Regions from separate parts of the Homo sapiens genome. Here region 1 is linked to region 2. The links are contacts of gene promoters, found by promoter capture Hi-C in human tissues and cell types (Jung and others, 2019). All regions are on one chromosome and are shown on one strand. Each heading gives the region's core, a stretch centred on a gene start or on the middle of the fragment in contact. The rest is flanking DNA. Distances are from core to core; before and after follow the strand shown. Region 1 overlaps LRR1 (leucine rich repeat protein 1). Region 2 holds the start of KLHDC2 (kelch domain containing 2).

Region 1 (2,942 bases), core at 400-2,899, 170 kb after region 2:
GGTTGGAGTGCAGTGGTGCAATCTTGGCTCATTGTAACCTGCACCTCCCAGGCTCAAGTGATCCTCCCACCTCAGGCTCCCAAGTAGCTGGCACCACAGGTGTGAAAACCACGCCTGGCTAATTTTTTTTTTTTTTTTTGTGGAGACAGGGTTTCACCATGTTGCCCAGGCTGGTCTTGAACTCCTGAGAGCAAGTGATCCACCAGTCTTGGCCTTCCAAAGTGCTGGGATTACAGGTGTGAGCTATGGCACCCAGCCTCAGTTTATATTTTTATAAGAATGATTACAGTCCGGGCACGGTGGCTCATGCCTATAATCCCAGCACTTTGGGCGGCCAAGGTGGGCGGATCACGAGGTCAGGAGTTTGAGACCAGCCGGGCCAACATGGTGAAACCCGTCTCTACTAAAGATACAAAAAATTAGCTGGGCATGGCGGCACGTGCCTGTAATCCCAGCTACTGGGAGGCTGGGGCAGGAGAATCGCTTGAACCCGGGAGGTGGAGGTTGCAGTGAGCTGAGATCACGCCACTGTAATCCAGCCTGGGTGACAGGGAGAGACTCTGTCTCATTAAAAAAAAAAAAAAAAAAAAAAAAAAAGGAATGATTACAGTAAGGGCCAGGCACAGTAGACAAAAATTCGCCAGGAGTGGTGGCACCCACCTGTGGGTTGCAGTGAACCAAGCTCTTCCCACTGCACTCCAACCTGGGTGACAGAATGAGACTCCATCTCAAAAAAAAAAAAAAAAAAAAAAAAAGAAGAAGAAGAAAGAATGATTACAGTAAATAAAATACAAGATGGTTCTAATTGAATTTTTTCCTCTTTTATTACAACAAACTTAGATTTGTAACCTGTGGTTTAGCTGGCAAAATGTAGACCTGTGCAGTTGCCTTATAGAGTTCCAGTCAAAGAACACCCTAGGGCTCCATCTTGAGCACAGAAGCAAACCCAGTTTTCTTCCCATCCTGGGAATCTTACTGAGGCAGACTTTGCCCTTTTAGAAGGCACACAAGCATATTTGGGAAGCTGCCTCTTGTGCCATTGCCTCTTCAAAAAACCTGCAAGAGTCTGTCCCTATTCGGCTATATGGGATAGCAGAATGTGCAAACAGCCTTCTTTAAAGAAAATACAGGCCAGGCTGAGCACAGTGGCTCACGCCTGTAATCCCAGCATTTTGGAAGGCTGAGGTGGGTGGATCGCCTGAGTTCAGGAGTTCAAGACCAGCCTGGTCAACATGGTGAAACCCTGTCTCTACTAAAGATAAAAAAAAAAAAAAAATCAGCCACGCATGGTGGTGGGTGTCTGTAATCCCAGCTACTCGGGAGGCTGAGGCAGGAGAATTGTTTGAACCCGGGAGATGGAGGTTGCAGTGAGCTGAGATCGTGCCACTACACTCCAGCCTGGGCAGCAAGAGCAAAACTCCGTCTCAAAACAAACAAACAAACAAACAAAAAAAGCAAGCAAGCAAGCAAATACACGCCAGGCCAAGTATGGTGGCTCATGCTTATAATCCCAACACTTTGGGAGGCTGAGGCAAGAGGATCGCTTGAGGCCAGGAGTTCAAGGCCAGTCTGGGCAACATCATATCAAGACTCCGTCTCTACAAAAAGTTATTTTAAAAATTTATCCGGGAGTGGTGAGGTACACCTTTAGTCCCAGATATTCAGGAGGCTCGCTTGAGCCTAGGTGTTTGATGCAGTGAGCTATGACTATGCCTCTGTACTTCAGCTTGGGTGACAGAACAAGACTCTGTTTCTAAAAAATAAAGAAAATACAGCCAAATATTAATCATTAATGTTTTTAATACCATACCTTACTTAGACAGATATCCACAGGAGGCTCCTTTAACCGAACAGTGGCTTTCCCCTCATCTACAAATTTGGTGAAGAATTGCTCAATGTTCTCCCTTAGCTGCATAAAACCAATAGAAAAAAAAGAAGAAAACTAATTATTGTTACTCAGTAACATTTATTACAACTAGAATGTGCCAGTTACTTTGCCAGGCTTTGGTTTGGCTTTTAGTCCTTGAGTCTGAGTGTTTTCATTTTAAGTTTTAAAGCTTTTTATCACGCCACTGCACTCCAGGCTGGGCAACAGAAAGAGACTCCTTCTCAAAAAAAAAAAAAAAAAAAAAAAAAAAGTTGTTTTTTTTTGAGACAGAGTCTCACTCACTCTCACCCAGGATGGAGTGAAGTGGTGCCATCACTGCAACCTCCACTTCCCAGGTTCAAGCAATTCCCATGACTCAGCCTCCTGAGTAGCTCGGATTACAGGTGCGTGCCACCATGCCCGGCTAATTTTTGTATTTTTAGTAGAAACACGGTTTCATCATGTTGGCCAAGCTGGTCTAGAACTCCTGGCCTCAAGTGATCTGCCTGCCTGGGCCTACCAAAGTGCTGGGATTACAGGCATGAGCCACGGCGCGTGGCCAAGTTTTAAAGTTTTTTTTTTTTTTTTTTTTTTTAGCAGTTGGGAAGTTATACTCCTCATCTAGCTGGTGGTGGATGTTACTGCTCTGTCTGTCCAGTAACTCTCCTTTGAGAACAGGATCACCATGTTTTGAGAGAATGCTCCTTTTCTCCCATTCCAACTATGTAACTGTAGGAAGAGTTGCCAATAGCAGTTACTTGCCTTCATAACTTCAGTCCATTAGCCTGGGGTGGGCACACCTCCCAGTAGGTTATATACAAACTCCATGAGAGCAGGAATCTTGTCTCCTTTGCTATTCTATCCTGAGTGCTAGAACGATGACTGACACATAATGAGTGCTCAAAAAAAATTTAATGATTATCATCTATATAAATGGCATATTTAAAATTTAAAAAAAATTAATGATTGCTGTTGCATCTGCTTTAGATTTCAACAACTATTGATTCAGAACCCACTATGTACCAGGTACTCTAATAGGGGCTTGGGACATAGCAATGAATAAGACTGACAGGGT
Region 2 (3,125 bases), core at 501-3,000:
TGGCGCCGTCTCAGCTCACTGCAAACTCCGCCTCCCTGGTTCAAGTGATTCTCCTGCCTTAGCCTCTCAAGTAGACGGGATTAGGGCGCCCGTCACCACGCCAGGCTAATTTTTTTTTTTGTATTTTTAGTAGAGACGGAGTTTCACTATGTTGGCCAGGCTGGTCTCGAGCTCCTGACTTCAGCTGATCCACCTACCTTGGCCTCCCAAAGTGCTAGGATTACAGGCGTGAGCCACCGCGCCCGGCCCCCTTTCTATTTTCTAACCACATTCATTGGAAACTGGGGAAAACACTGCAGATTCATTAGGATTGGCAAAAAATTACTTTTGCAGTTAAACCAAAATAAAGTATCAGGACAGCCATCTTTGAAAGCTATCTCAAAAATGGTCAACTATGATCAAGTCAGCTGTACCATAAGCTAAAAACAATCACAAAGCAAGTCATCCAAGGCACGGGCGTGGGGAGGGCGGAGAACATTTTCAAGACCAAAGAGGAATTTTGTGGTAGGACTGGCTCAGAGCCATCCTAGCAAATAAAATTCTAGATTTCCGAGGTTAGCAGGGTAAAGAATGGCAACTGGCTTTAAACTGCTAACTAATCACGTTGTTTATAACCAGGGGATCGGAGAGTCAAAGAGCTGCACTCTGTAGTTCATTTGATGCTGGGGATTTTTTGGTTACTGGTGGAGCTTTTCCATTATCTTAATAGGGGTGTCTGCTGAAAAACTTCAACCCAGCTGAAGCCAGAAGGAAAACAGTCCTGATGGCCATTTGCACAGGCGGGAAGGCTGAATAAGGTGGTTCCTGTAACCTTTTGGAATTCCAGTTTTCCTACACCTCGGCCTCCCTGTAAGTGGGCAGCGGTTCCCAGCTCCAGAGGGTGAAGTCCTCGTAGGCCGTCCTCATAACGCGTCTGAGTGATATCACACACCGTCACCTTTCACACCCCAACCCTTCCGAATGCACCGCCCAAGCAACATTAACAGGGCCTTCCCCGGAATAACGCTCCAATGGCAACAACGGGGGTGGGAGTGAGTTGGCTTTGTGAGCACCAGGGTGACATGACAGCAGCCCTGGAGGTTCGAGACGGGTTGGGGTACTCGAGAGAAGGAAGATTCCCGCGCGCAAAAAAAAAACAACCAACGGGCAGAGTCTGAGGTGGGGCGCGCGACGCAGGCGGGGAGCGCCCTCGGCGGCCCGCTCTGGCCTCCCCGCCTGGCCGCGAACGCAGACCCGAGTCACAGCCGAGCGACGTCCGTCGCGGCCCGGCCACTCACTGACCTTGTAGCCGCCCCAGACGAACATGTGGCGCCCGTCGCTGACGGCTACGTGGCCGCTGCGCTCAGCGGGGCAGGCAAGCTCCATGGACTCATAGCTCTCGAAGGCTGGCCCAGGCAAGTCGTCAGCCCGCAGATCCTCGTTGCCATCAGCCATCTTGAGGCTGCACTTTTGCTAACCAACAATGCCCACACCCGCGAGGGGCCAAAAAAACAAAGGAAAAGGAGAGAAATGCACAGCGGCGCGAGGCAAGGAAAAGGCGGTGGCGAAAGGGACGGCGTTGAGGCCTCTCTGCCGCCTGCGCTCGCGTTTCCCAGCCTCCTCGGCCGAGGACGGCTCTCCGCCGCCGCCGGGGCACGCCTGCAGACAGAGGGGCCGCGAGCGGAGCCGGGCGGCGGCGGCGCGGGCCCGGGACTCGGGGCACTGCAGGGAAGCGGTCCGCGTCGGGCCGGCTCCCTATTGCAGCCCGTCTGCCCCGCCTCCTGCAGTCCACGGCCTTGTTTACGCCGCGGCCGGAAGCCGCCCGTTCCGCTGACGCCGCCCGCCGAGCTCCGGAAGCGAGGCTGCCGCTCAGCGCCCCCAGCGCCGGGTCCTCCAGCCGCCGCCGCCGCCGCCGCCGCCTCTGCCCGCGCCTCCGCCTACGGCCTGGGCACCGCAGATCTATGGGGCCCGGCGACTTCTAGTCGCGCTTCGAGTCTCCTTTCACTGAGGGAACCACAGGGATAATGTCCTGAATCGGTCCCTGAAAGCTGCTGAATTTTAGCCGGATTGCCGCAATTTTTTTTTTCTTCCCGAGGATTTCTATTCGTTTGATTGAGGGATGATCTCAGAGGGTTCACAGCCCGGGCAGGGGCACCAGAATTGCTCCACTAGCAAGTTTCTGGTCTCGCCTTAGAGTCGATGCAGGCCCTGCTGTTCTGCGGGCGCGAGGGCAGTCGCTTAGCTCTCACGTGGGGCCCAGCCCGATCCCCGGGGGCCTCTCCTGAGCTCCTGCCGCCCCTGCCGGGCGCCGCCTCTGCGGGAATCTGACGTTGCCGCCGCCGCCGCTGCCGCCGCCAGCCGGGCTGCAGAGTTGGCTTGAAAAGCGTTTCCGAAGCCGTAACCACCCTTTTCTTCAGAAAGAAAGGCGGATCCTTTTCACGCACACACAGCTTTCTCTTATATGATACCTTTCAATTGGGCCAAAAGAAAATTACGAGTTACTGTGCTTGATACCTCACCTGTAAAATAGGGTGGGACAAAAATAATCTTAAATTCTTGATCTTACAGTGCCTGTAGAATTTATCGTGTTTGGTAGGAGGGACGTGCTTCATTATCTCCATTTCCCTCATCTTCTGGTTGGGAGCACTCCATAGAAAAGGAACACTTTGAACAATAAAAGGCTTTTTTTTTTTAATTATTAAAATGCTTATAGCCTGCCACTCCTCCCCTAGTGTGCCAGTGTGTTTACTTGAACTCAAGAACTTGAAAGTTACTTAAGAGGATTAATTAAAGCCTTCAACAAGGAAGCAAATCACCTTGAGGCTGTTAAGACCTTATCTGCCATCCACCCTGGTTGGTGCCCTCAAATCTGTCTGGTTCACAGAATTCCTTGCAGCAGTGTCTTCTCCCAGTCGAATTATGCTCACTAGACTTTGGGGTTATCGAAGTTCCTTGTGAACCAACCTCGTGAATCTGATCGAGTCACTTAAAAACCTTGAGCTGGCTCCCGTCGTCCTTAGTAGAATCCAAAATTAATATCTCGGCTGGGCGCGGTGGCTCACGCCTGTAATCCCAACACTTTGGAAGGCCGAGGCAGGCGGATCACCTGAGGCCAGGAGTTCGAGACCAGCCTGGCCAAAATGGCG

What was found. Contacts are between HindIII fragments. The study calls those that stand out against the background at their distance.
Region 1: a fragment that was not itself captured here is called in contact with the fragment with the promoter of KLHDC2 in region 2 in 1 of the 25 tissues and cell types used here (mesenchymal stem cells).

Annotation. Positions count from the first base shown.
Region 1 is chr14:49,601,337-49,604,278 of GRCh38, reverse strand. LRR1 (leucine rich repeat protein 1) reads right to left here. Exons shown (of 4, transcript NM_152329.4): 2 at 1,811-1,909. Among named protein-coding and RNA genes, the nearest start is that of LRR1, 3.9 kb to the right of the region's middle. The HindIII fragment of the contact is 4,652 bases long and covers 1-2,942 here.
Region 2 is chr14:49,766,778-49,769,902 of GRCh38, reverse strand. KLHDC2 (kelch domain containing 2) reads right to left here and starts at 1,750. Exons shown (of 13, transcript NM_014315.3): 1 at 1,282-1,750. The coding sequence starts at 1,434. RefSeq lists silencers at 1,521-1,700, 1,871-1,950, 2,291-2,350. The HindIII fragment of the contact is 15,286 bases long and covers 1-3,125 here.